Regions from separate parts of the Homo sapiens genome. Here all the other regions are linked to region 7. Evidence: promoter capture Hi-C in 16 types of primary human blood cells and fetal thymus (Javierre and others, 2016). All regions are on one chromosome and are shown on one strand. The core of a region is centred on a gene start or on the middle of the fragment in contact, and the rest is flanking DNA. Distances in the headings are between cores, read along the strand shown.

What was found. Contacts are between HindIII fragments. The CHiCAGO score rates a contact against its expected background, and 5 or more counts as called.
Region 1: a contact is called between a fragment that was not itself captured here and the fragment with the promoter of MAFB in region 7, in 1 of 17 cell types (monocytes). The highest score is 6.9, in monocytes.
Region 2: a fragment that was not itself captured here is called in contact with the fragment with the promoter of MAFB in region 7 in 4 of 17 cell types (monocytes, M0 macrophages, neutrophils and 1 more); the score reaches 11.6 in monocytes.
Region 3: a contact is called between a fragment that was not itself captured here and the fragment with the promoter of MAFB in region 7, in 1 of 17 cell types (monocytes). The highest score is 6.7, in monocytes.
Region 4: a fragment that was not itself captured here is called in contact with the fragment with the promoter of MAFB in region 7 in 1 of 17 cell types (monocytes); the score reaches 6.4 in monocytes.
Region 5: a fragment that was not itself captured here is called in contact with the fragment with the promoter of MAFB in region 7 in 2 of 17 cell types (monocytes and M2 macrophages); the score reaches 7.9 in monocytes.
Region 6: a contact is called between a fragment that was not itself captured here and the fragment with the promoter of MAFB in region 7, in 1 of 17 cell types (monocytes). The highest score is 5.2, in monocytes.

The regions. Positions count from the first base shown.
Region 1 is chr20:40,306,174-40,308,873 of GRCh38, reverse strand. The region is part of intron 1 of LOC105372617 (a long non-coding RNA gene); the gene reads left to right. Among named protein-coding and RNA genes, the nearest start is that of LINC01370, 300 kb to the right of the region's middle. The HindIII fragment of the contact is 7,580 bases long and covers 1-2,700 here.
Region 2 is chr20:40,266,755-40,269,512 of GRCh38, reverse strand. No RefSeq gene overlaps it. Among named protein-coding and RNA genes, the nearest start is that of LINC01370, 260 kb to the right of the region's middle. RefSeq lists enhancers at 1-164, 165-696. The HindIII fragment of the contact is 1,636 bases long and covers 658-2,293 here.
Region 3 is chr20:40,179,303-40,182,002 of GRCh38, reverse strand. No RefSeq gene overlaps it. Among named protein-coding and RNA genes, the nearest start is that of LINC01370, 180 kb to the right of the region's middle. The HindIII fragment of the contact is 8,234 bases long and covers 1-2,700 here.
Region 4 is chr20:40,196,484-40,199,183 of GRCh38, reverse strand. No RefSeq gene overlaps it. Among named protein-coding and RNA genes, the nearest start is that of LINC01370, 190 kb to the right of the region's middle. The HindIII fragment of the contact is 159 bases long and covers 1,308-1,466 here.
Region 5 is chr20:40,322,306-40,325,081 of GRCh38, reverse strand. No RefSeq gene overlaps it. Among named protein-coding and RNA genes, the nearest start is that of LINC01370, 320 kb to the right of the region's middle. The HindIII fragment of the contact is 8,564 bases long and covers 1-2,776 here.
Region 6 is chr20:40,233,455-40,236,154 of GRCh38, reverse strand. No RefSeq gene overlaps it. Among named protein-coding and RNA genes, the nearest start is that of LINC01370, 230 kb to the right of the region's middle. The HindIII fragment of the contact is 560 bases long and covers 1,109-1,668 here.
Region 7 is chr20:40,687,905-40,690,604 of GRCh38, reverse strand. MAFB (MAF bZIP transcription factor B) reads left to right here and starts at 1,369. Exons shown (of 1, transcript NM_005461.5): 1 at 1,369-2,700. The coding sequence starts at 1,755. RefSeq lists enhancers at 1-178, 179-1,156 and silencers at 1,107-1,416, 1,437-1,506. The HindIII fragment of the contact is 7,144 bases long and covers 1-2,124 here.

The DNA.
Region 1 (2,700 bases), core at 119-2,618, 380 kb after region 7:
TCTGAGCTTCACCCATTCATCCTTCCCTCCCTGTCCCTGAACCTCTGGCAACTACTGATGCTTTTACTCTCTCCATAGTTTTACCTTTTCCAGAATGTCATAAAGTTAGAATCAGATAGGAGGTAGCATTTTTGATATCTCTTTCTTGTACCATTTTCCTTCATGTTTTCATGACCTTTCCAGCTTACCACACACACTTACACATGCACACACACACACACGCACACTTACACATGCACACTGTCCTTCCAAAACCGAATCGAAAAGTTGAGAAAAACTCATACCTAACTTGGCTCACAAATTTGTTAAGTTTGAGAGGGCCTTTGGGGGGTCATTTTCTCTCTCTCCCTGCCTTCCTATCAGGAAGTAAACACTGACAATTCACCCAACTCATAAGAGCCAGGCCTCTCCTCCTGGCTTGGTCTGTTCACTTCTTGTTTCCCTAAAAGCAAGGGCCTTTTTGCCTGTGCTGTGTCTGAGCGGTAATTACCTTGTGTCTGTTCTGCTGCCTTCAAATTATTTTTCCCACCTTCAGAGCAATTGCCTCCCACTTCTTATCTCTACTGTGATCTTCTGCAGGGCACAAGGGACCTGTCTCTTGACTCTCATATTTTTGCTTCTGATGTTAAAAAGTCCCCTTGAACTTGCATTTTACAGACACCAGCAAAGCCCAAGTGTCTTCACATAACCTGACACTTCCCGGGGGCAGGGTGTTTGCAATTATAGCCTGAGCTGGCTGCGGGATCAGAGCATTGCCCAGGCCCGGCGAGGCCTGGCCTGCAGAGCACTTTTGATGAGTGATGGGGTTATTATTATGAATGCTATGCGAGGACGCTGGTAAAGTCCCATGGCAGGAGGGCTTTTCTCCCTTCATCTTGCCTTAGCATAGACAGACAGACATATACATACATATATGCATATACCGGGAGGCAGGCTGGCTAGGGAGAGAAGAAAACGAAGTTAGAGGAAATTCTCACACATTTTGGAACGATCTTTCTCCCATGCCTCTGTCTTCCCAGAGTCTCCTGTTTCTCACTGACAGGCCATCCTCTCTTAAGGACCATGAATATAGTTTACTCCCAAATTGAAAAGCCAACCTCTTTTTCCAGCTTTTGTATTCCAACACCCTTCCTTCCCTTTTATCTTTTTTCTTGAGGCTTAGGATTTCTTTCTTTGGAGGCATTTTCTGCCACTTTTGTCTCTTGCAGAGAAAATAAAAAATACCTAGGTAGAAGGATAGTGGTCCTAGCTATTTGCATAGATAGAGTGCTTCTCTAGGGAAACAATTTTTTTCCAACTCTTCCATTGTGTGTGTCTCTGTTCTGTGCTGCAGAGTGTTGATCATTGTTCATTTATGCCTCTTTGGTAAATCTATGTCCCTGTGGGTGGGCCCAACCTTCCCTGAAAGAGGGAGGCACGCCCAATGTTAAATGTCTGGGAGGAGGCCATACTCAGCCAGAAAATGTGATCTTAGGAGGCTTGGCAAGGAGCCTCCTAGTCCTTCCACTTTGGTTTCAGACTTTGAGGAGACTTGATGCCTTTGGAGGAGAGCAGCATTTCACGGTTTCGAGATGGCCTCCCTGATGGGAAGGTGTGATGGGAACTGGGAAGGGGCTCCCAGGCTACGTGTAATGAGCTGAAGGTAGGAAGCCACCCTCATCTTGTCAAGTGGCATGGCTGCTTGTTTCTTGCCTGTTCATTCCCTTCAGTTGACATAATCCCTTTAGAAAAGCCTCCCGGGAAAGTTTGAAATTTCTCTTTAAAACACTGCAGAATCCAGGGAAGGACCTTGCCTCGCTGTTTCAGGAGAGCAGTAAAGAGACTGGAATGCCTCCCAAGATCAGCTGGAGCAGCAGGGAATGTTCTGGATTTCATTTGCAAACACGACTCAAATTTAAAATCGTCATCATATGCCTGTCATTATGTTCTAGATCTTAAAACATCCTTATGAAGTGGCACTGCTCTTGCTCCCATTTTACAGATGAGGAAGCAACATTTGAGACTGTGTATGTCAACTACCCCTCCTCATTTTACATCCTCTATTTTCCGATATCCTTGAAAGAATTGCATGGCATATTAAAAAGGAAGTGGAATGTTTTTGTTACATTTTTACAATGCTCAAAGCACCTTTGTGTACTTGGTCTTCTATCTAGATGGTTAAATTCCATGGATAAAGCAAGACAGAGGCTTTTCTGTTTTTGTTTGTTTTTAAAATTTTAAGAGCTGGACACTGCAGTCTGGGTTGTATGACTTATTGGAAACCGTGTGTCAATAGATGGAGGGGATGGAATTCAAAATTATTGCAATTCCGGGACTTAATCCTCTAGTACTTGATTTTGGCTTCATTCAGAATCTGTTCATGTATGGAAATGCCAAAGACTGGGAATGTAATCCCAATAGTCTCAGCAGCACGCTGGGAATAGGAAGGACTCCCAAGTCCCAGTGGACCACAGACCTGCTAGGTCAGACTTTCCATGTGTTTGCTTAGTTCACTGGAAGTGGCCAGGGAGACTCCTACTAATGTGTCAATTATCTCAGTGTATCAATTAATAGGCTCTGTTAAAAAGTCAAGAAGATGTGGGGATTTGAAATAATCATGTGGATACCTTGGTTCTACACCTGCAGTTTTGCCAACTCACAGGACATAGAGGAAACATTTGATGTTGCTGTTTCTGCTTCAAAGATTCCAATGATTTCTCT
Region 2 (2,758 bases), core at 226-2,725, 420 kb after region 7:
CACCAAATTTCATGCACGTCCGTGTGAAGAGACCACCAAACAGGCTTTGTGTGAGCAACGTGGCTGTTTATTTCATCTGGGTGCAGGTGGGCTGAGTCCGAAAAGAGAGTCAGCGAAGGGAGATAAGGGTGGGGACATTTTATAGGATTTGGGTAGGTAAAGGAAAATTACAGTCAAAGGGGGTTTGTTCTCTGGCGGGCAGGAGTGGGGGTCACAAGGTGCTCAGTGGGGGTGTTTTTGAGCCAGGATGAGCCAGGAAAAGGACTTTCACAAGATAATGTCATCACTTAAGGCAAGGACCGGCCATTTACACTTCTTTTGTGGTGGAATGTCATCAGTTAAGGTGGGGCAGGGCATATTCACTTCTTTTGTGATTCTTTAGTTACTTCAGGCCATCTGGTCATATACCTGGAAGTCACAGGGGATGCGATGGCTTGGCTTGGGCTCAGAGGACTGACAGAGGATAAAAATAGTCTTGTTTTCAAAATAGAGAATTCTAGAATATTAGTAGAAATAGAAAAGGGTTGGCCTGCCTTCTAAGTACTGTTCTCAGAAGAGTAAAGATAACTCTCCTTGCTTCCTCATTTCCCCACCCCCGTGGTCTCCAGGAGCCATCCCACTCCTTGGGCCTCAGGGACAAATCTCCATACGCAAGCTTGTCCTGGAGATGAGTCCAAGGGAAGGTTCACTTACCTGTCTACTGTCAGCTCCTCCCACTTCTAGTTCATCCTACTCCCACACCTAGTGAGTTCATGTTTCAGATCTCAGTTCAGATGTCACTTTTTTAGGGAAGCTCTCTGGGGCCTCCCTGTCTATCAAACCCTTGTCTTGACAGAAGAGTACTATGTTTCCTGTCCCTTTCACAGTAACCATCACAGTTGTAAATGTGTGTTTATTTGTGGGAGCATTTGGTTAATGTCTGTCTCCATAGCTGGAATGTAAACTCCTCCAGTGCCGGGACTCCACATCTGATTGCATTCAGCCCTGCATCTCCAGTACCAATCCCATTACTAGGAATGTAGTTTACACTAAATAAATATTTGCTGATTGAATAAGCAACTCTTCTGTATTGGATTACACACATAGGAGAGGTGACTTCCCAAATCTATTCTAGTTCAAATGTCTAGTATGACAATCTGTTTCCATACTGTAGTAGGTGCTGTTGGTGCCCTGCTCAGCTGCCCTTTGCTGGGCTGGTGCATCCATGTCTCATCAGTGCTAGATGTTCTTGACTCACAGCTGGACCCTTCAGAGAATTACTTGCTATCAGGAGCTGTGCCACCCAGAATGGCCTGGGAAGCTGCATTCTCTCCAGAAGTCTGTCAGTAGCCAATGGCCAACTAACACAAGGGCAGAAAAGTTTGGCACCCTTGCCTCAAGGTGGGAACTCTGTGGTTCCACGCAGGCTCCAGAGCTGCCTGTGGAATGAGGCTGAGACTAGACTTCAGCTGCACCCTCACCTTTGCCCGGTTTCTTCCTCTGCCCTATAAGGCTTCCCTCACACACTTGCAAGTTTTATTTGGGGGCACTCCTTCAATAGCTCAATTACATATGAATCTCAGCTTAGGAAATGCTTCTAGGAGACCTAAACTAAGACACATTCAATATGCATAACCAAAAGGATACTGGTAATTTTTTTTTTTTTTTTTTTTAGATGGAGTCTCTCTCTGTCGCCCAGGCTGGAGTGCAGTGGTGCCACCTCAGCTCGCTGCAACCTCTGCCTCCTGGGTTCCAGTGATTCTTTTGCCTCAGCCTCCCAAGTAGCTGGGATTACAGGCATGCGCCACTACGCTCGGCTAATTTTTGTATTTTTAGTAGAGACGGGGTTTTGCCATGTTGGCCAGGCTGGTCTCAAACTCCTGACCTCAAGTGATCCACCTGCCCCGGCCTCCCAAAGCGCTGGGATTACAGGCAGGAGCCACCACGCCTGGTTGATACTGATAAATTGATTCTCTGGAAGAAAATGAAAACAACAATAAACAACAATTCTGATTTGTAGCATTTATCAATTATACTACACAACTATAGTAGTAGTGTAAATAACTCCTACTACAGCCATTTTCAAGCTGCCAATGTGATTGCTGCTGAACACAAAGTTGAAAAGACATGCATGCAATTGGCTCATGGGAGTCAGTAAGAGCTATGTTTAAAATATCATAACTCATGATATACATAAATTAAAAGTTGTACACATAATATTAATATTATGATTAGTACCATTTTGATGGTAACTATGTGCTAGGCATTTTGATAAATACTTTATTTTTACCTCTGTCCTAATCTCCAAGAAGCTTATACTATTCTTACCCCCATTTTATAGAGGTAGAAACTGTGGGTCATAGAGTTACATTATTTACCTAAGGTCACACTACTAGTAAATGGTGTCGCTGAGATTCAGCTCTGACTCCAGATTCTTAATGCATGACCAACTTTAGTGTCACCTACTAAAAGGCAATAACTGCTCCCTTCCTGAGTATAGAATTTTACATTTGGAATAGTGACATTTTTCTGTACAGCAATTTTCATTCCTTAGCATATTTGATTATTTCAATAGAAACTATGCAGGGCAAACATGAATATTTTAAAGATGAGGACCTTGAGACTCAGTGATTTGTTCAAAGGTTCTAAGGCTCAGAACTAGAGTTGCACACCTGGGCTTCTCACGGTCCAGGTGTCTTTCCAGCAGACCTTAGTCTTTCTTCCTCAGAACCTCAACTCTCAATGACAGCTTCATTAACCTCTGGATGTAAAATTTAGC
Region 3 (2,700 bases), core at 88-2,587, 510 kb after region 7:
TTTAATTATTATCATTCTCCCCTGAAATTACAGGCAAAGCACTCAGTGATATTTGAAACATCAATTACTGGCCTGCAGCCCTCTGCTACTGTTTCTCTGCCTGCTGCCAGGGCTGCAAATCCATTTTTTGCATTTCTTTCAGATTTTCTGAACAAAATTATGGAAAATCGCTGTTGGCACATGGCATTTTTCCACAATGGTCAGAGTTATTGAATTGTGCCGTTATGTGCTACTTTGAGAAGACATTCCAACTTAAAATGCCAGCTTCAAAACTATCAGTACGTTTTCTCCAATCTGAGCTTTATAAATTTTCCACAGGAAAAGGCTAAGAAGTTTGCCCTCGCTTTGCCTGGATCTCCTGCCGAGCGTAACTACCCACTTGTGATGGTTCGTGTTGCTGATTTTTAGCTCATCTCTGCTTTGAGTTCTCTTATTTGGATTTCCTTTCTGTTCTCTCATCACAATTGCTCACCCTGCGTGGCCATGCATCCATGGCCCCCGGAACTCTGAGGCCTCCAGAGGGCAAACTATTGGCAGCCATTTTGAATTTTTCTTCTCTGCCACTTCCTTTCAGGCCGCGATCTGTGCAGTCATGTTCCAAAGGCAACTGGAACTCAAAATCCCCGACTAGACTCCCCCTTCTGTATCCCCCATGGAGGATCACACACAAATAGGAATTTTGGGAGTTGTTCTCAACTAGTGTCTCTCTCTGAGACCACACAGTCATGCTGTCTCCAAGACCTGTCAATTCTACCTCAAATGTCTCTCCCATATCAACTTCTTTGTGTGTGTGTGTGTGTATATATATATATACACACACACACATATTTATTTATTATACTTTAAGTTCTAGGCTACATGTGCACAATGTACTGGTTTGTTACATATGTATACATGGGACATGGATGAAGCTGGAAACCATCATTCTCAGCAAACTTCTTTTCTATCACTGACTTTTCTTTTAGATTTTACCACCTGGCTTATATCTTGCCACTAGTCTTTTCCTTCTTCAGTGTATCTTCCACATTGCTGACAATGTATTTAAAAATATATATTTATTAGTTGACAACAGTTATTAAAATCTACCCTGTATCAGATACTGAAATAGGCTCTAGGGAAATAGATCTGGTGAGTGTATAACCCCATCTTCTAAATGTTATGAACCATTGTTATTCCACTGCTTAGAAAGAGCCAATGGTTCGGCCAGGCGCGGTGGCTCACGCTTGTAATCCCAGCACTCTGGGAGGAGGAGGCGGGAGGATCACCTGAGGTCTGGAGTTCCAGACCAACCTAACCAACAGGGAGAAACCCAGTCTCTACTAAAAATACAAAATTAGCCGGGTGTGGTGGTGGTTCATGCCTGTAATCTCAGCTACGTGGGAGGCTGAGGCAGGAGAATCACTTGAACTCGGGAGGCGGAGGTTGCAGTGAGCCGAGATCGCGCCATTGCACTCTAGCCTGGGCGACAAGAGCGAAACTCCGTCTCAAAAAGAAAAAAGAAAGAAAGAAAAAAAAAAGAGCCAATGGATCATCTCTATGAAATAAAATCACAGGTCTTTAACGCAGCTGGTCCTCTGCGACAATGGTGACATGGTTCTGATGTGTTTCTCTAGTCACATCTCTCTCATTTCTTTCAACATACCCTATATTCCATCTGCGCTAATCCCTGTTTCTTAAACGAAGCAGACTTTTTTTTTTTGATCCCAAATCTTTACCGTACTATTTCATTGCAACCTGTACCCATCTTTCACAGCTTAGCAAACACAAATGCCAAGTTATTTTTTTAAGGCTTGATTCAGATTTTGCCCTCCTATGAAGCCTTTCTATTCCTACTCGTCTGGCTCCCAGATCCTCTGCACCTTAATTGTACTGCATTCATAACTCTGGAAAATCAAAAGGGGGTGGGAATGGTGGGGTAATATAGGATGGCAATAGGGAGCACAAGCCTTGGGGTCAAATGGATCCAAGTTCCGTTACTGATCAGTAGGGATTTTGTGGCGTTGCTTATTTTATCTAAGCCTCAGTTTCTCCATTTATACATTTGGAAATATGAATATGGACGTCACAGAGTTTTTAACAGTATTTAATGAACTCATTCACATAAAATGTCTATCTTAGAGTAAGTGCTAAATAAATTACATCATTTATAATTGTTATCACCATTGTCATTTTTATTATTATAGTGTAGCTTACCCCATGTTATTACAATTAGTTTTGGGTCTCTCTTTCCTACTAGACTGTATGTTTTTACAGTACAGGAACCATCTCTTTTTATTCTTTTTACCTCTTTTTCTCCAGTGCCTAGAATAGTGCCTGGCTCATTTTAGGTTCACAATTAGTGTGTGCTAAAATAGCAAATTAATCTTTATCTGGAAATCCGCAGGTACTTCGAACTCAACATGTAAGAAATTCAGAGTCATTAGCTTACCCCAATGCATGCAAAGCATCTAGAACAGTGCCTGGCATCTAACAGTTGTTAACATATAAGTGAATTATATTATAATTTGAATTACTCAGCCAACACATTGATGAGTTATTCTCTTGATGGTGTGTAAGAATTACAAACATCAATTTCTGTGGAAGATAAGACATTTGATTAAACTGTTCAAATAAGAGATTCCTTGAATATCCATTTAAAAAAATTATATAAACTGCATATTCTCCAGGTTTGGCTTCCAGGAAACTCTACTAGAACACTCC
Region 4 (2,700 bases), core at 138-2,637, 490 kb after region 7:
ATTTCTTCTTTGTGGCTATTTATTCTGGTCCATTTTAAAATTTCTGTTACCTTCCACTGAGGACCCAACTAGGCTGGATTCATCCTTAGACAGAGGAAATGTGCAACAAATAGCTCTTCTCTTGGCCCATGTGTTCTCCACCCCCTGGTTTATTTAACCGTGGCTACTCTCTTCATTAATAGCTGTTTACACTTCACAGAGATACTTGTTGGACTTGGCAAAAACCGTCAGCTCTACTCATATTCGGTCTCTGACCCAAGGCAAATTTTCATATTTGACAATATTTTGCTTTGTAAGAGCAACTAGTGAAAAACAGTTAATTAAATAGTCTAGGTTGTTCCATTGAGAATAGATAAAAGCATGTGGGCACCCTGTTAGCCTATTGCTTCTTGAAGGACAGTAGCTTGCTGAAGAGGGTCAACCCAAATACAGATAAATATAGAAGGAAAGTGGGAAAACATGGGAATGTAGATTCTCCCATGGCTCTCTTCATCCTCAAATAAATATGTTCATGAAAAAGAGGAAGACATCACCACTAAGTACCATGCCCTATCTTCAAGTTTCTAAGATTTTGTTTGTTTGTTTTTGTTTTGTTTTTTTGTTTTTGTTTTTGTTTTTGACAAAGACTCACTTTGTCGCCTAGGCTGGAATGCAGTGGTGAAATCTTGGCTCACTGCAACCTCCACCTCCCGGGTTCAAGCGATTCTCATGCCTCAGCCTCCAGAGTAACTGGGATTACAGGTGCGCTACCATGGCCAGCTAATTTTTGTATTAGATGGGGTTTCGCCATGTTGGCCAGACTGGTCTCGAACTCCTGACCTCAAGTGATCTACCCGCCTAGGCCTCCCAAAGTGCTGGGATTACAGGCATGAGCCACTGTGCCGGGCCTAGTTTCTCAGGCTTATAGGCATATTATAGCCACCTCGGCTGCTTCCCTGACACTGGGGAGGAATGGTCAAATCCAGACTTGGATTAACTTTGCCTTCATCCTGTTTAGCTACAAGTCTTAAAAGGAAGGCCAGCCCTTGCAAGGACAGCATAAATAAGCTTCATGCCTTCAATCAGACAGCATGGTACAGTTATTTGCAAGTCTTGAAAGGGCCACTTAATAGGACCTTCGTGTCCTTTTGAGCTAGCTGAAGAGAAAGTGCTGCTAAACTGCTGGATTGGCAGAGCTAAGTTTATACAGATGGAAGAGTTAGCAGAGACCACAGAACAAATACCAGCAACCAACCCATTTCACACTTCTGAAAAAAGAGAGAAAGGAATGGCAAAGGCTGGCCAAAGCAAACAGGCTTTGGAAAGCTTGAAACTGTGGGCTGGAATTTTCAGTTGTTCCTAGTCTTTTCACACTCATTTTGGGGAACTTTCTCCACTCAGAAGCGCAGAAACTTTTTGCGTTTACACTTCTTGGGTTTTGCCTCCTACAGAAAAAGGGAAGTTAGTTCCCAATAACACGATAAGCTTTTCCAACATCATCAGCACAGTTTTTCTGGAGTCTGAGCCTTTTGTGGGGGACAGGGGAGGTGCCATTCTTTCCAGAATTTGTGTTGTTGGGGTTCCCTTAGCTTGTCTTTTTGTGTCTGCACTGGCTCTTAGTCTTTTTTATTTTCTTTTTATTTTTCTTTTCTTCCAGGAAAGAAAGCTATTTTCTTTTATTTTCCCCAGAGTGTGCTGGGACATAAAACCTCCCCACAATCTGCTACCTCACACAAATACCCTTCAGTTTCCGCTGAAGCACTTGGGTGCTTATCAAAATGTATTCTAAAGTAAACACGAATGTTGTTGCTGCCTTGGGGATGTGTGATGTTTCTAGCTCCAACCCCAGAAGAACTGAGGACAATATTTGGAGACAAGAATTAAGGAGAGATTTAGCTTGAGTGGCTGTGAAATGGGCAGCTGCCATCTCTGGTGTGGTTGCATAGAATTTATGGATAGTGGTTGGGAGAAACTTTCCTGTGGGCTGGCATTAGAAAAGCCAGTGGAACAGCTTCAACTAAAATGCTTTGTTTGAGAAAGTAAGAAAACTCTGTGCACATGGGACAGACCTTACTATAATCATCTTAGCTCTGGATCAGTTGGAAAATGGCTGTCAGAGAGGCTTTTAATGGGTTAAGCAGGTTACCCAACTAGTTTACCAGAATGTGTAGATGCGTGTCTGCAAGGAAAAATTCTGCAACTGTGTCTAAAAACAGTTCCATCTGTTCCTATGTATTCAAATACTTAGATGGGGAAAAAAAAGAGTAAATGCAAAGACAAGGATTAGACCCTTTACACAGCAGATTGTCTCAATTCAAGTTGGTAATAGTGGATGACCCAGAGGCCAATAAACAAAGGACCAATGGAAATTAGGTACCCCCAAAGGAGAAAAAAAAAGCAGCCTGAGGGAAGCCTGGGGATATTTCCTGCTGAGCTGCTTCCAACTAGATGATACCTACCAAGGCTGGTACACGCAAATGTGTACATGGCTTTTTGTGTATGAGACTTGGGGATGGACGAAGGCAAAGTCCATTAGAGAAAGTACTGACATCTGGATGACTTTGAACACAAAGAAGGAAAATTTTTCCTTGGAGGTGGCAGAGTAAAGAGATAATAAAAATCATCTAGGTGGCTGAAATCAGAGTGAAGGAGGAGTCCAAAGCAGTACATTTGAATGAACACATGGTGTTCAAAAGTTTGGAAACCCTTTGAGCAAGCGAA
Region 5 (2,776 bases), core at 103-2,602, 370 kb after region 7:
TCTTAACCTATGGCACCTGTGAAAATGACTTAATTAGGAAATAGGGTCTTTGCAGATGTATTCAAGTTCAGAGGACATCATACTGGACTAGAGTGAACCCTAATCCAATGACTGGTATCCTTACAAGAAGAGGTGATTTGGACACAGAGATCTGCAGGGAGAAGAATGCATGACAATGGAGACAGAGGTTGGAGTGATGTGGTTGCAAACCAAGGAATACCAAGGATTGCTGCCCCTATTAGAAACTAGGGAAAGAATAGGTACAAAAACAGTTAGAATAAATAAGATCTAATATCTGATAGCACAACAGCGTAACTATAGACACTAATAACTTAATTGTACATTTTAAAGTAAGTAAAAGAGTATAATTGAATTGTTTGTAACACAAAGGATAAATGTTTGAGGTGATGGATACTCCATTTTTCATGATGTGATTATTACGCATTGCATGCCTGTGTGAAAACATCTCAGACACCCCATAAATATATATACCTACTCAATATCCACAAAAATTAGAAATAAAAAATTAAAAAAAAAAATGAAGCTAGAAAAAGACAAGGAAGGATCTTTCTGGAGAACCTTTAGTGAAAGCATTGTCCTGCCCACACCTTGATTTTGGACTTCAGGGGACCTCTGAATACATAGCAAATGGTGGCAAATGCCCCCATGTCTATATTGTGGGAGGGGGTGTTAAATGGAGGACCCTCCAGTGCTCAGAGGCATTACCCCGATAGGGCGGCTACATGGTTGGTTGGTGGTGATATGGGACCCTGACCACAAAGCAGAATTTTTTTTTTTTTAGTTGAGATGGAGACTCGCTGTGTCGCCCAGGCTGGAGTGCAGTGGTGCAATCTTGGCTCACTGCAATCTCTGCCTCCTGGGTTCAAGTGATTCTCCTGCCTCAGCCTCCCGAGTAGCTGGGACTACAGGCACATGCCACCACGCCTGGCTAATTTTTTGTATTTTACTAGAGACGGGATTTCACCATGTTGGTCAGGATGGTCTCGATCTTCTGGCCTTATGATCCTCCCACCTCAGCCTCCCAAAATGCTAGGATTACAGGCATGAGTCACCATGCCCGGCCCAAAGCAGATATTTAATTTAACCAGTTCTTGTGTTTGATCTCTCCACCTCATTATTTCATATATCTAATCTTGCGCGTATCTCACAAAGCTCATTGCAATTATTTGTTATTTTAAAAGCTCAGTCTCTTTCTCTAAGGCTTTGGTCATCTCTGTAACTGGTCAAAGGAAGGACCCTCTGGGGGCAAAAGTTACTTTTGATTTTCCAGCAATTTCCCCTATTCATGATTTTGCAATTGCAGAATGCAGCTTGCTGTACATTTGCATAAGCCACTTCATCCTTTTTCTTTCAGGCTCTTTAAGCTACCCAGCACCCTCCACACATGAGTCACACACAGCAGTGGCCCTTAGGGTTGAGGTGCCTTCTGCAGCTCCCACACCCTCGCTGACAGACCTCTCTTTCCTCTCTGGAGCTGTGCTTCATTTGCTGCTGGGCGAAACTCAGTCTTGCTGCAAATTTGGCGCCTGCCTGTGTGTGTGTAATTGGGTTGGATTTACATTAAGAGGGTTCCCTGTGGTGAAAACCACACTGCTATTTCCAATCTGAAGCTGCATAAAACATTCAATTTTCTAAGTATCCGTCAGCTGTTAGCACTGTGGAAAACGTAGTCTGCCTGGATGGATGGGAGGCTCCCACTCAGTCCTGTAAACCCTCCGATTATTTGTGCTAACAGAGGGGATAATATTATATGGTTGTGGATAATGAAGCGTTATTCATCTAAGCATCCACTCATTCATTCAAGGAACACATTTGAGAAACTGGTGTGTGCCAGGCACTGTTCTGAGTGTCTAATCAGATCACATCTCTCCTCAGTTAAAAGCCCTTCAAACTGACTTCTTGTTGCATAATCTAAACCAAGGGCCAGCAAACTTCTTTTTTTTTGTAAAGGGCATGATAGAACATAGTTTAGGTTTTGTGGGCAATGAGGTATCTGTAGCAACTATTCAATTCTGACATGGCACCTTGAAAGCAGCCATAGACAATGTGCCTATGAATGAGTGTGGCTGTGTTCTAATAAAACACTATTTACAAAAATAGGCACTATTTATAAAAACAGCCACCGTTTGCTGACACCTAGTCTAAACACCTGATTTTGTTCTGCTGAGCTCTGTGACCTACTCCTTGTCTCATTCCTTGTGTTTACCAGACGTGGCTCTCCCTGCCATTTGCTTCCCTCTGATACAGAAACTTCTTTTCAGCTCAAAAACCCACCAAGCTCTTCTCTGACTCAGGATCTTTGTGTATGCTATTCCCTCTGCCTGAAGGAATTCTCTTTTCCTGACTTTCGGGAAAGATGGTTCATCTTCATTCCTCATGTCATCCATGTGTCTTATGCGATGGCCTCCATGAATGGAGCCTCTTTTGAAAGCTGGTCCTGCCTAAAGTGACTTCCTCCAGTTTCTCTCATCTCAGCCTGTTGGTTTCTGTCCTTGTAAGGACATGTTACAGACATTAATTATCTTTTAATTTACTTATATTTTGGCTTTGTTTTTTGTCTCCCACAAAGGAAGGCTTTAAGTCCTCAGAGGGCAGCTTCTTTTTTGTCCCATTCTCTCTCCTCAATTGTATACCTTGGCACTGCACTTAGTGTGCAAGGGTCTCTCAATTTATTTAAAAAGCAATATTTAAAACTTTTATTAAAATGTTATTTAGTCAGTAACAGACAGCCCCCAACTTCATGGAGCTTGCAGTC
Region 6 (2,700 bases), core at 139-2,638, 450 kb after region 7:
CTGCAGGGTCCTCCTTGTGCTGTATCATTGGTTCACTGTCCCCTCACCTCTGGATTTCCCTTCTTATATCAATGGATACCCTGCTGTCCTTAGGAGAATGTTCTCTTCCCCTGATCTTCAAAACAGGAGCCAGGAAGGAGAGCGCCAGGGGCTGGGGGAGCTGTGAAGGGAAGTGACAACTCCAGATTTCTTTGAAAGAGCAGGTGAAGAGGCTGAGAATACTTAGGTTTTATTTTCCTTTGCCTTATTATAAACAACCTGCATACATAAAGGTTGTAACTTTGATTCTTATCACAGAAGGAGCCTCTGATTTCAGTCTTAGACAAGGTATGTAAAAAAACGGGGGTTGTGGAGGGCATTGTCCTTGGATGTGGGAATGGAGCCAATGATTGTGTCTGAGAATTTCCATCATTTAGGTTTCTGGGGCTGAAAAAAGTGCTTGAGGAATGAATGTAACCAAAATGCTTCTCCCTCTTCTCTCTCTTCTTTTAAAAAAATATGAAGGGAGAGGATTATTATGGCCAGGGGAAGGAGGAGGATCCCAGGAGATGTGGGTTGATACTGTGAGTTGTTTATCTTTCTTCTCCCACTCTGGGTCATCAACTCTTAGTGATCAGAGATGACATTCGTTCATCTTCATATTCTTGGTGTCCAGCAGTAGCCATGCTTAAAAATAAAAGATTCTCCCTTATAAATTTTTTTCACTTTCAAAATTATCTGTATGTTTTATAGATATAGAAATCTATAAAATTTTCTATATTTTCTATTGTTTGCTGTAAATGAACGTGTGGATATGAGAAGGAGGAGATATCTGAGTGAACTCTTCCAAGCAGAGATGACTCGGTATGCCATCCACCCATGTTTGTTAAGTTTCCTATTCCTTCCTCATGTATCTTGGTTGCTTTGGCAAAATCCAAATTGCCCAGGATCCTGGCTGCTCCATCCCATCCCATTGACTTATAGCCAGAAGGAACACAGTCTCATTTCTTAACAACCCTTCCTGCATGCCCCTCCGACACACATTCACTCTGTCCCATCTACCCATTCATCCTCACTCTTTTTCTACCTAATGTACACTTTCATCTATTAGCTAGAGTTTTGCTAAGCTTCCTCCTTATTTCTGATCCATGTCCCCTCCCTTCCTTCCTCTCTCTCTATTTCTTTTCAGGTTAATTTATCTGATTATATGCAACATGCTGCAGCCATGTTAAGACACCAACTGAGTTTCCACTTGGAGGCTTGGAGGAAAGATTACCATTAAAACGTGACTTCCATCCACTCAGCTGAAATTACTATTGATTGCCAAAGAAAAATATTTGTGCTGTGAAGCTGGGAGCTATGATGTTGAACCATATTAACATAATGTTAGCATAGCTACGGGTGTTTAGTAGCATGCAATCAGATTTGAAATGAACGTTGATTATAGATGGAGATTAATGTTCACATATTCATAGGAACACAATGAGAAGAGCAATTTCCTTTCTACTACAGATCAATGGTTTCCCCATTCAATTATACAGCTGTAATAATTGCATTATGCTGAAATATTTCTTAATGGCTAATTTCTTTCCTTTTGTGTGTGTGTGTATGAGCTCTTTTGTCAGTGATAGCTTCTGCAGCCCGAGGACAGCATAAGATGTTTTAATCACTGGTGCCATTTTGCAAGCTTTGACCAAGCCAGTAATTTCCCCTCTTTCCCCCTTTTTTGCCAGTCTCTCTTATTATCACCCAGAATTGCTTCCTGGATGATTGAAATCTAGAGACTTGCCTCAAGTCTTTTCCTTCCCTGTTCAGAGAGTGAAGACAAAACTGGAAACCTACAGGATCATGGGTTGCTCAATCTGTTTTTGCACATTTGCTGAAGATTCTTTGAAGGAAAAAGAGATGAAGATCCTCAAATATTATGCATAGGATGCCCATCCCCCAAATGACTCTTATTTAATATAAATATATACATATACATAGATATTAATTTGGAGACCATTCACTGATTAAAAAGCAGACAAAATACCTAGTGTCTTCTCCAATACTCCAAGCAGACCTCTGAGGGCTGATAGGATGTCAAAGTTTATATTTAATGAATGTAGTTACTGTAGTGAAGATAATATAAATGAATGTAAATCAAAAAATATATATTTATAAATGTATAATATATAGATATAAATTCATAACAAATATTAATTTATAACTTATAAATATAAGTTTACAATATATAAATGTATAAATATAAAGGTTATTAAAAATATTAAGAGACTGTAAGCTCTCCTCTGTTTCTAAAGACAATGACGTTTTCCTGCTTACCTGGCTGTGTCTCAGAGGAAGTCTGGCTAGCATTTTCTTCTTTAGATGAGCACTTTCTTATAGATGAATTATAATATTCCTGTCTCATGCCTTTCTCAGCTGTCCATGGGTGAAGACTGGGCTTTCTCAAATCTGATTTCTTTCATCCTTGTGCATCGAGGCTTGTTCATAACTTAGTTGAACAGAGTGAGTCACAATAGAAAGCAAGCTAAATGTGAAGCTCTTCCTCTAAACAGAGGTCCCAAGGGCACTGTTTACTGTGTGCCTTCTGGCAAGTCATTGACAATTCACAGCCTCAACCTTTCCAGCTAGAAAGTTGAAAACTGATCTCCTAACTCACAAGGTCATGGTGAAGAAGGAGGAAAAAGAACTTGAGCTAGAATAAGTGTAACAGAGTTG
Region 7 (2,700 bases), core at 120-2,619:
GCCTAGTGCGGTGTGCTTCGGTCTCCCCGTCTGCCCTCCGGGGAGGTTTCTCACCCGGTGGCCCTGGGCCGCTTCACTGTGGCGCTTCCACTTTTGGCTACCGGCCTTCCTCCGCCCAGGACCTTCCGGCCCAGGGAGCAGCCGACGGGCACCCCCGAACGCTGGGGCACGGAATTTCAACGGGGCGACCAGAGCGGAGCTCGCGGCTCGAGGCTCGCGGCTGAGTACGAAGACGGGACCCGAGGACCTGTACATCGCTCGAGGGGAACCTGTCCTGGGCTCTGGTGCACACATAGTATGCGTTCTGGGCTGGCTTGGGTTGGGCCAGGTAGGGGAGACCTGGCTGGGTACGAGGCGCCGTCCAAGCCTTCCGGCCGTGGGCCGGGCGGTCGCGGCGCCTTTGCGCACAGTGGCCACTTGGGGTCGCACTTTATGCCTGTTTGAGCCTCTCCGCGGCGGGCTGACGCCGGGATCTGCTTAATCGTTACAAAACGTTCAAACAAAAACAGGGCCGGCTCCCCAGCAGTGGAGAGCTACTCGGAGCACCGTCCCGGGCCGGCCTCGGCCCCGAGGCTCCGGGGGCTCAGGATTCCGTGCGTGTGGCGGGGAAGAGGAATTCAGAGCCTTTGGGCTGCTGCTTTTCCCGTCGCCTTCACTGTGAACATTGTGCGGTGGGGTGAACGCGGGGAGCGGCGGGGCCAGTGGAGTCGAACCTCAGGGCTCTGCGACTGCACCCGCCAGGAGGGGCCCTCGCTTGGCCTGAGAAAGGTCCCCTGAGGTTAAGAGTTGGGTCTGAACACAACTCTCGGAGCCTCGAGCCCGCCCTCCCCAACATACAAATACGCGCAGATCTCCAGAAACAGGAACGCACGACACACACGGCCAGAAGCCGCGAGGACACACAGAGCGTCGCCCACTGGGCGGGGGCCGCTTGGGAACAAAGGGCCCAGGAGGCGTTGTCCCGGCGCTCATTCTGAGCCTCCTTGGGGGTGACACGGGATGGGGGTGGGGTGCAAAGGGAACTGAGGGAGGAGAGTGCGCGAGGAGGGGAAAGCGGTGATTTGGCCTAGAGGTGGGGCGCGCACTCCAGGCGAGCGTGCGTGGGCCGGGACCTGCAGGGTACGGGGGTGGGCCCAGGCTGGCCGTCCCACTCCGCTCCAGCGCTCCGCCAGGCCTCCGCCGCTCCGGGGCCGCTCGGGCCGCCAGTCAGCTGACGCGGGGGGCGGGGGAGCTGTCAGGCGCGCCCCGCCCTGCGCCGCTGGGCCGCGGAGGCCGTGCAGCTATTGGCCCGCGCACCGGGCCGCCCGGGCCCCCGCACCCCAGTGACATCAGGAGGCGATAAAAGGCTGCGGCGCCGCCGGATCCAGCACAGCTGCACCGCCGAGCTGCGAGCGGCTGCGAGCGAGAGAGCGTAAGAGCAAGAGAGCTAGAGAGCGAGCAACGGGCACTCGCCCCACGCCTCCCCTCAGCCCCACCGCGCGCTCCGCTTGCCTCTCCACCCCGCCCGACTCTACCCGGCCCGGTCCCTGCGCGGGCACAGCCCAGAGCTCTGGGGCGGTGCAGGCAGCCTCGGGACTCTCCGGCGCGCCGCCGCGTCCCCAGACAAAGGCTTGGCCGGCGGCCCCGGCCCGCTGCGCCCTCGCTCCCCGCCTCCCCAGCTCTTCTCCGCTCTTCCCCCCCGCGCTTGGCTCGGCGCGCTCCGGCCGGCCGCAAAGTTTCCCGGGCGGCAGCGGCGGCTGCGCCTCGCTTCAGCGATGGCCGCGGAGCTGAGCATGGGGCCAGAGCTGCCCACCAGCCCGCTGGCCATGGAGTATGTCAACGACTTCGACCTGCTCAAGTTCGACGTGAAGAAGGAGCCACTGGGGCGCGCGGAGCGTCCGGGCAGGCCCTGCACACGCCTGCAGCCAGCCGGCTCGGTGTCCTCCACACCGCTCAGCACTCCGTGTAGCTCCGTGCCCTCGTCGCCCAGCTTCAGCCCGACCGAACAGAAGACACACCTCGAGGATCTGTACTGGATGGCGAGCAACTACCAGCAGATGAACCCCGAGGCGCTCAACCTGACGCCCGAGGACGCGGTGGAAGCGCTCATCGGCTCGCACCCAGTGCCACAGCCGCTGCAAAGCTTCGACAGCTTTCGCGGCGCTCACCACCACCACCATCACCACCACCCTCACCCGCACCACGCGTACCCGGGCGCCGGCGTGGCCCACGACGAGCTGGGCCCGCACGCTCACCCGCACCATCACCATCATCACCAAGCGTCGCCGCCGCCGTCCAGCGCCGCTAGCCCGGCGCAACAGCTGCCCACTAGCCACCCCGGGCCCGGGCCGCACGCGACGGCCTCGGCGACGGCGGCGGGCGGCAACGGCAGCGTGGAGGACCGCTTCTCCGACGACCAGCTCGTGTCCATGTCCGTGCGCGAGCTGAACCGCCACCTGCGGGGCTTCACCAAGGACGAGGTGATCCGCCTGAAGCAGAAGCGGCGGACCCTGAAGAACCGGGGCTACGCCCAGTCTTGCAGGTATAAACGCGTCCAGCAGAAGCACCACCTGGAGAATGAGAAGACGCAGCTCATTCAGCAGGTGGAGCAGCTTAAGCAGGAGGTGTCCCGGCTGGCCCGCGAGAGAGACGCCTACAAGGTCAAGTGCGAGAAACTCGCCAACTCCGGCTTCAGGGAGGCGGGCTCCACCAGCGACAGCC